2 separate regions of the Homo sapiens genome follow, and region 2 is linked to region 1. The links are contacts of gene promoters, found by promoter capture Hi-C in human tissues and cell types (Jung and others, 2019). All regions are on one chromosome and are shown on one strand. The core of a region is centred on a gene start or on the middle of the fragment in contact, and the rest is flanking DNA. Distances in the headings are between cores, read along the strand shown.

Evidence for each region. The method cuts DNA at HindIII sites, captures the fragments that hold promoters and counts their contacts. A contact is called where the count stands out against the background at its distance.
Region 2: a contact is called between a fragment that was not itself captured here and the fragment with the promoter of CDCA5 in region 1, in 1 of the 25 tissues and cell types used here (hippocampus).

The regions. Positions count from the first base shown.
Region 1 is chr11:65,082,534-65,086,241 of GRCh38, reverse strand. CDCA5 (cell division cycle associated 5) reads left to right here and starts at 2,202. Exons shown (of 6, transcript NM_080668.4): 1 at 2,202-2,309; 2 at 2,519-2,613; 3 at 2,692-2,757; 4 at 2,843-2,878. The coding sequence starts at 2,264. It overlaps ZFPL1 (zinc finger protein like 1), which reads right to left and starts at 2,020. Exons shown (of 8, transcript NM_006782.4): 1 at 1,864-2,020; 2 at 1,442-1,551; 3 at 1,016-1,127. The coding sequence starts at 1,543. RefSeq lists enhancers at 717-1,301, 1,891-2,160, 2,241-2,470. The HindIII fragment of the contact is 10,147 bases long and covers 1-3,708 here.
Region 2 is chr11:65,511,493-65,515,042 of GRCh38, reverse strand. It overlaps the pseudogene SNRPGP19. Among named protein-coding and RNA genes, the nearest start is that of SCYL1, 12 kb to the left of the region's middle. The HindIII fragment of the contact is 7,969 bases long and covers 1-3,550 here.

The DNA.
Region 1 (3,708 bases), core at 953-3,452:
TAAGTCCAGGCAGGTGCTACCAAGCTGTCCAGCTCACAGGGGTAAGTTTGGGTAGGAAGAAAACGCCACCTCCCCTTTCAGTCCTTTCAATGAGTCCTCTCTGGGCCTGCACTCATCATATTCTTTGGGCTAATGGCTAATAATGAACAGTTTCAGAAAAGGTTCCTCGATACACACACAGGCACACATATACATGTACACATCCCTGGGCACAAATGTACATGTCCTTATAAGCACATAATCAAACACAAGTGGCATTCCCTATATCTACACTATGGGTACAGGAGCCCTCACACATACACATCTATACACTCACAGGTTTGCTAACAGGCACCCTCAACCATGCATTCTCTTGCACTCCCACAACACACCTGTGTTCATATGTTCACATACATACATTTACCCATTCATTCACCCCAAGTACAGATCAACACACTAACACTCATTTAAACACACAATGTACATTAAGTGCCTGCAAGTACACACATGCACTCACAAGGAGAAACACATATGGAGCTGACTCTTGCATGAGCTCCTTCAAAAACTGGAGCTAAGGCTCTTACCCCAGATTCAGGTCAAAGTCATGACACATATGTCTGCTGACTTCTTTTAGCTAACTTTAATGTGGGAAACTCACTTCCTCTCTGTTTAGCCTTGGAATCAGTGGTGGATCCTGAATATCTGAAAGCAACATGCCGGTCTGGCTAGCTAATAGTCACGGCCACCAGCATACCCGTAAGCTTGACTGGTTCTCGCTGAAACCTCCAGATTGGCAGGGCTTAATTTTTAGGAAAGAGGAACTAGGAGCTTTAATTTTTAGGAAAGACAGTGAGGCCTAGAAAGGAAGAATAACTTGCCTGAACTTACACAGCAGGTAAGGAACTTTAACAGGACTAGAATCTGGGCTCTGAGACTCGGGGGACTCACTGTCCTGCTGCTTGAGGAGGGCCTGGAAACCAGTCACCAAGCTGGCCCCTGAGGCTGGCCTGATCCCCCCGAGGTGCCAAGGCCTCACCATAGCAGACAAGGCGGGTCGTCTCTCGGCTGGCCAGGGGTATGTTGCACAGGCGGCAATTGGGGTTGTAGTCGCTATCTTGGAGCCATTGCAGGTAGGACTGGACGATGCACTGGAGTGGGAGAGAGATGTCACAACTGGTGCTGGGGCTGCTCGGCCTATCACCCCAAGGTCCGACTGTCTCTTTTTCTCTAGCCACAGAGGAGACTCATCCTTTCGTTTGTTTAATCAATAAATATTTATTGAGCACATACTGTGCACCAGACTCTCTCTTGGGAACGGGGGATATATCAGTGAACAAAATAAATCAAGTCCTTGCCCTTGTGGGGCTTACATTCTAGCGCGGGGCCCCTCATGGATTTGGAGGAAGCCAATACCGCCTTGCCCACCCAGTGCCCTGCTCAGTCGCTCCCCTGAAGGCCCCACCTTGGCGTGATTGGCTACCAGGCAGTGCTCGCAGACGTTGACCCGATGTTCGAAGCAGAACAGGTTGGTCACCTTTCTCTTGGGGCACTTACAAAGCCCCATGATCGATCCTGGGAAAGGGGCATGAGTTGGTAGGAAGTCAGGTTCTGGTGGCCACCACTACGCTCTCACCAGCCCAGTTTCCACTCTTAACTCCCCCAGACACCTCTCATATTCGCCCCGATCTCAGATTCCTGCCCACTGTCCCTCCTTATGCGGAGAAACACCCCCTGCATAAATCCCGCCTCCGGCGACCCCTCAATCCTTCTGGATCCCGCCCCCGGCCAGGCCCCTCCATCAGAGGCTCCCCGATACTACCGGCCCCGCCCCCAAGACCTCTCCTGAGCCCCACCCCCTCCAAGTCCCGCCCCTTCTCTACAGACCCCAGTCTCTGTGTTTACTGATCGGCCGCTGCACTGGTTCCGAAGGGCGGTAGCGATGGCTCGAGGCGCGGAAGGGCAGGGACCACTCTCCCCAGGGCTCCTGCGCCTCTCCCTTCAGCCCCGGCCGCCCCGATTATCCCTCCGCTGCCACGTCTCTTCCGGGTGCGGCGCGCGCTGATGACGCCATCGCGCCCCTGGGCCACGCCTCCGCTGCCGCTAGAGGTGAAGACGGGTGGAAAAGACTCGGGGTTCCGAGGGCCGCAGACCGCTAGCCCTACGTCACTTCCGCTTCCTTTCCCGCAGGGCGGGTAATTCGAACGTTTTTTGCAGCGAGTGGCCTTCCCGGTTGGCGCGCGCCCGGGGCGGCGGCGCTGGAGGAGCTCGAGACGGAGCCTAAGTTATGTCTGGGAGGCGAACGCGGTCCGGAGGAGCCGCTCAGCGCTCCGGTGAGCGGAGGGCGCGCGGGAGACGTGAGGTCGAGCCGTTTGGGGGACGCAGTCCGGTGAAAGATGGCCTCTTCCCTCCCGCTGCCGCCGCCGGAGGAGGCGCCCTTAAAAGGGCTTGTTTGGGAATCTTCTCGCTGTCTCTAGAACCTGTTCTCTGGACTCTAAGGTCTAGAGTCCTCCTCTACCACTTAACTTTTTTCTCTTTCCAGGGCCAAGGGCCCCATCTCCTACTAAGCCTCTGCGGAGGTCCCAGCGGAAATCAGGCTCTGAACTCCCGAGCATCCTCCCTGAAATCTGGCCGAAGGTGAGCCCCAGATTTCTCACTTCCTCCCCTTGTGGCCCCTCACCTAATGTTGAGCTCACGTTCATCCCTCTTCTCCAGACACCCAGTGCGGCTGCAGTCAGAAAGCCCATCGTCTTAAAGAGGATCGTGGCCCATGCTGTAGAGGTAAAGGCTAAGGAGAGTGTTGTGGGTGGTTAGGCGGGCAAAACTGGGGACCAGCTATGTGATCAATTGGTATTGTCCCCCGCAGGTCCCAGCTGTCCAATCACCTCGCAGGAGCCCTAGGGTGAGTTCACTTTCATCTACTTAATTAAGTAGAATCTGGGTCACTCTAGAGCTGGACAGCACACATTGGCTCCTCACATCTGCCCAGGGAGCTGTTTTGCAGTACTGCAAAAACAGTTTGCCTGTGGGCACCTGCATGCATTGCCAGTCTTGATTACTCCCTGAAGACTTAATACACTTAACTTTTTATGCCTTGTGTATTTCTACCATTTTCCTGGAACTTCCTTTAAAAGCTGAGCTATGTCTTAACTCCACGTACTGCCTTTCTAATCCATTATGCCTTCAGCTTTCATGTATGGGTGTTCTGAGATAAGTCATGTGTATGACATTTTTACAGTTTTAGCAGAAGTTATTATCAAAGGATGTTTCATTAATAGACAATCTGAAGACATACTGACTGAGAAATGTGAACTCCTTTGAAGAGCTGATAGGGCTTAGAGTCAACTGGGGAGAAAGACCAATGACAAGTGATAGCAACGTTGTGTACTGGGACTGCAATAAGGAATACTAGATGCTATGATGGTAGCTAACCCAGACCATGTGGCTCAGGGAATGTTTCGTGGAAGAAGAAACATTTGAACTGAGTCTTTAAAGACAAGTAGAGGCCGGGTGCAGTGGCTCACGCTTGTGATCCTAGCATTTTGGGAGGCTGAGGCGGGCAGATCACTTGTGGTCAAGAGTTTAAGACCAGCCTGGCCAACGTGGTGAAACCCTGTGTCTACTAAAAATACAAAATTAGCCAGGCATGGTGGCACGTGCCTATAGTCCCAGCTACTCAGGAGGCTGAGGCAGGAGAATCGCTTAAACCCAGGAGGCGGAGGTTGCAGTGGG
Region 2 (3,550 bases), core at 302-2,801, 430 kb before region 1:
CTTTTGCACTAAACTAATAGTTTTTAAAAACTGGTTTCTTTAATCTCAACATCTTTTGAAATTCTTATGTATTACGGGTGTATCAGTAGTTTGTTCAAGATTTAAAACCTTGAGACACTATGAGCAAAGCTCACCCCCCGCCCTCCTCCAGCATAAAAATTATAGATAACGGCTAGGCATGGTGGCTCACGCCTGTAATCCCAGCACTTTGGGAGGCTGAGGCGGGTAGATCACCAGGTCAAGAGATCGAGACCATCTTGGCCAGCATGGTGAAAACCCGTCTCTACTAAAAATACAAAAATTAGCTGGGCGTGGTGGCGCATGCCTGTAGTCCCAGCTACTCTGGAGGCTGAGGCAGGAGAATCGCTTGAACCAGGGAGTCAGAGGTTGCTGTGAGCCAAGATCGAGCCACTGCATTCTAGCCTGGCAACAGTGTGAGACTCCATCTCAAAAAAATAAAAAATAAAAAATATTAAATGATGGCAGATGTATCCAAGGAATATTTTGGGGATTTGATCCCTTTATGAATCTTGTGATAGATGAAAGTGTGAAGATGGCAACTAGTGGACAACAGAGCAACCCTGGAACAGTGGTAAGATGAGGGAGAAGTATCCTCATATTAGAAGCCTTGGAACAACTATAAACAATGGCGGCTCTGCAGAGAAATCCAAGTCCCTTCTCCAAAGGACTTGTTTTACTATGATGTAAAAATTGGGCCACGTACATTTTTTTTTTTTTTTTTTTTTGAGACAGAGTCTCCCTTTGTCGCTCAGGCTGGAGTGCAGTGGCACAATCTCGGCTCACTGCAAGCTCTGCCTCCCGGGTTTATGCCATTCTCTTGCCTCAGCCTCTCAAGTAGCTGGGACTACAGGCGCCCGCCACCACGCCCGGCTAATTTTTTGTATTATTTTTAGTAGAGACGGGGTTTCACCATGTTAGCCAGGATGGTCTTGATCTTCTGACCTCGTGATCAGCCCGCCTCGGCCTCCCAAAGTGCTGGGATTACAGGCATGAGCCACCGCGCCCGGCCTGGGCCATGTGCATTTTTATATTAAGCTTTTTATTAAGTAAACATTTGTAACAATAAAAATTTAAAAAAAGAGATTTAAAACTTCTACTCCTCAAAGACACTGTTACAAAAAAATGAAAAGAAAGACACATATTGGGATAAAACTTTTGCAAAACATATATCTAAACATAAAACAGGCCACGGGCAGCGGCTCATGCCTGTAATCCCAACACTTTGGGAGACCAAGGCAGGCAGATCTCTTGAGGTCAGGAGTTTGAGACCAGCCTGGCCGACATTGTGAAACCCTGTCTCTACTAAAAATACAAAAATTAGTGGGGTGTGGTGGTGCATGCCTGTAATCCCAGCCACTTGGGAGGCTGAGGCAGGAGAATTGCTTGAACCCGGGAGGCAGAGGTTGCAGTGAGCTGAGATTGCACCACTGCACTCCAGCCTGGGCGACAGAGCGAGACTCCGTCTCAAAAAATACAAAATAAATAATAAACATACAACAGAAGTAAAAAAAGAAAAAAAATCTGACAAGGGACTTCTATCTCGAATATGTAAAAGCCCTTACAACTCAACAAAAGATAAAAATGCCAACAACAATGGCAAGAAAAAAAAAACACAAAATGGCTGGGCACGGTGGCTCACACCTTTGGGAGGCCGTGGTGGGTGGATCATTTGAGGTCAGGAGTTCAAGACCAGCCTGACCAACCTGGTGAAACCCGGTCTCTACTAAAAAAACAAAAATTAGCCGGGCGTGGTGGGGCGCTCCTTCAATCCCAGGTACTTGGGAGGCTGAGGCAGGAGAATCGCTTGAACCTGGGAGGTGGAGGTTGCAGTGAACCGAGATCGCAACACTGCACTCTAGCCTGGGCGACAGACGGAGACTCCGTCTTAAAAAGAAAAGAAAAGAAAAGAAAAGAAAAGAGAAAAACACAACACAAATGAACAGACACTTCACCAAAGAAGATACGCAACTGTGGCCAGGCGAGGCGGCTCACACCTGTAATCTCAGCACTTTGGAAGGCTGAGGCGGGAGGATCACTCGAGCTCAGGAGTTCCAGACCATCCTGGGCAACATGGAGAGACCCCATCTCTACTAAAAATAAAAAAATTAAGGCCGGGTGCGGTGGATCACACCTGTAATCCCAGCACTTTGGTAGGCCAAGGCGGGCAGACCACCTGAGGTCAGGAGTTAGAGACCAGCCTGACCAAAATGGAGAAAACCCATCTCTACTAAAAATACAAAATTAGCCTAGCATGGTGGTGCATGCCTGTAATCCTAGCTAATCAGGAGGCTGAGGCAAGAGAATTGCTTGAACTGGGGAGGTGGAGGTTGCAGTGAGCCAAGATCGTGCCATTGCATTCCAGCCTGGGCAACAAGAGTGAAACTCCATCTAAAAAAAAAATTAGCTAGGCATGGTGGTATGCACCTGTATGGTTCCAGCTACTTGGGAGGCTCAGGTGGGAGGCTGGCTTGAGCTCAGGAGGCAGAGGCTGCAGTAAGCTGAGATCCTGCCACTGAACTGCGGCCTGAGCAACAGCGACAAAGTGAGACCATGTCCCAAAACAAAACAAAAAACACCAGTGCTGGGTGCAGTGGGTCACACCTGTAATCCCACTTTGGGAGGCTGAGGTGGGAGGATCCCTTGAGTCCAGGAGTTCAAGACCAGCCTGGATAACAAAGCAAGACACAATCTCTTTTTTGTTGTTGTTGTTTTTTGAGACAGAGTCTTGCTCTGTTGTCCAGGCTGGAGTGCAGTGGTGCGATCTCGGCCTAATGTAGCCTCCACCTCCTGGGTTCAAGCAATGCCTCAGCCTCCCAAATAGCTGGGATTACAGGAGCCAGCCACCACGCCTGGCTAATTTTTGTATATTTTTGGTCTTGCTGTGTTGGCCATGTTGGTCTCAAACTCTTGGCCTCAAGAGATCCACCCTCTGCAGCCTTCCAAAGTACTTGGATTACCGGCGTGAGCCACCATGCCCAGCCACTCTTAATTTTTATTTTTTTTTAAACAGAGTCTCACTCTGGTACCCAGGCTGGAGTGCAGTGACGTGATCTCTACCTCCTGGGTTCAAGTGATTCTCATGTCTCAGCCTCCCGAATAGCTGGGATTACAGATGTGTGCCACTACGCCCAGCTAATTTTTTTGTATTTTTAGTAGAAACAAGGTTTTACCACATTGGCCAGGCTGGTCTCAAACCCCTGACTTCAAGTGTTCTGTCCATTTTGGCCTCCCAAAGTGCTGGGGTTACAGGCGTGAGCCACTGAGACTGGCCTTAATTTTTTTTTTTTTTTTTTTTTGAGATGGAATCTCACTGTTGGCCAGGCTGGAGTGCAATGGCATGATCTCGGCTCACTGCAATCTCTGCCTCGCTGGTTCAAGCAATTCTCCTGCCTCAGCCTCCCGAGTACCTGGGATTACAGGCATGTGCCATCACACTCAGATAATTTTTTTTTAACTTTAAGTCCTGGGATACATGTGTCGAATGTGAGGTTTGTAACATTTTTGTATTTTTGGTAGAGACGAGGAGGTT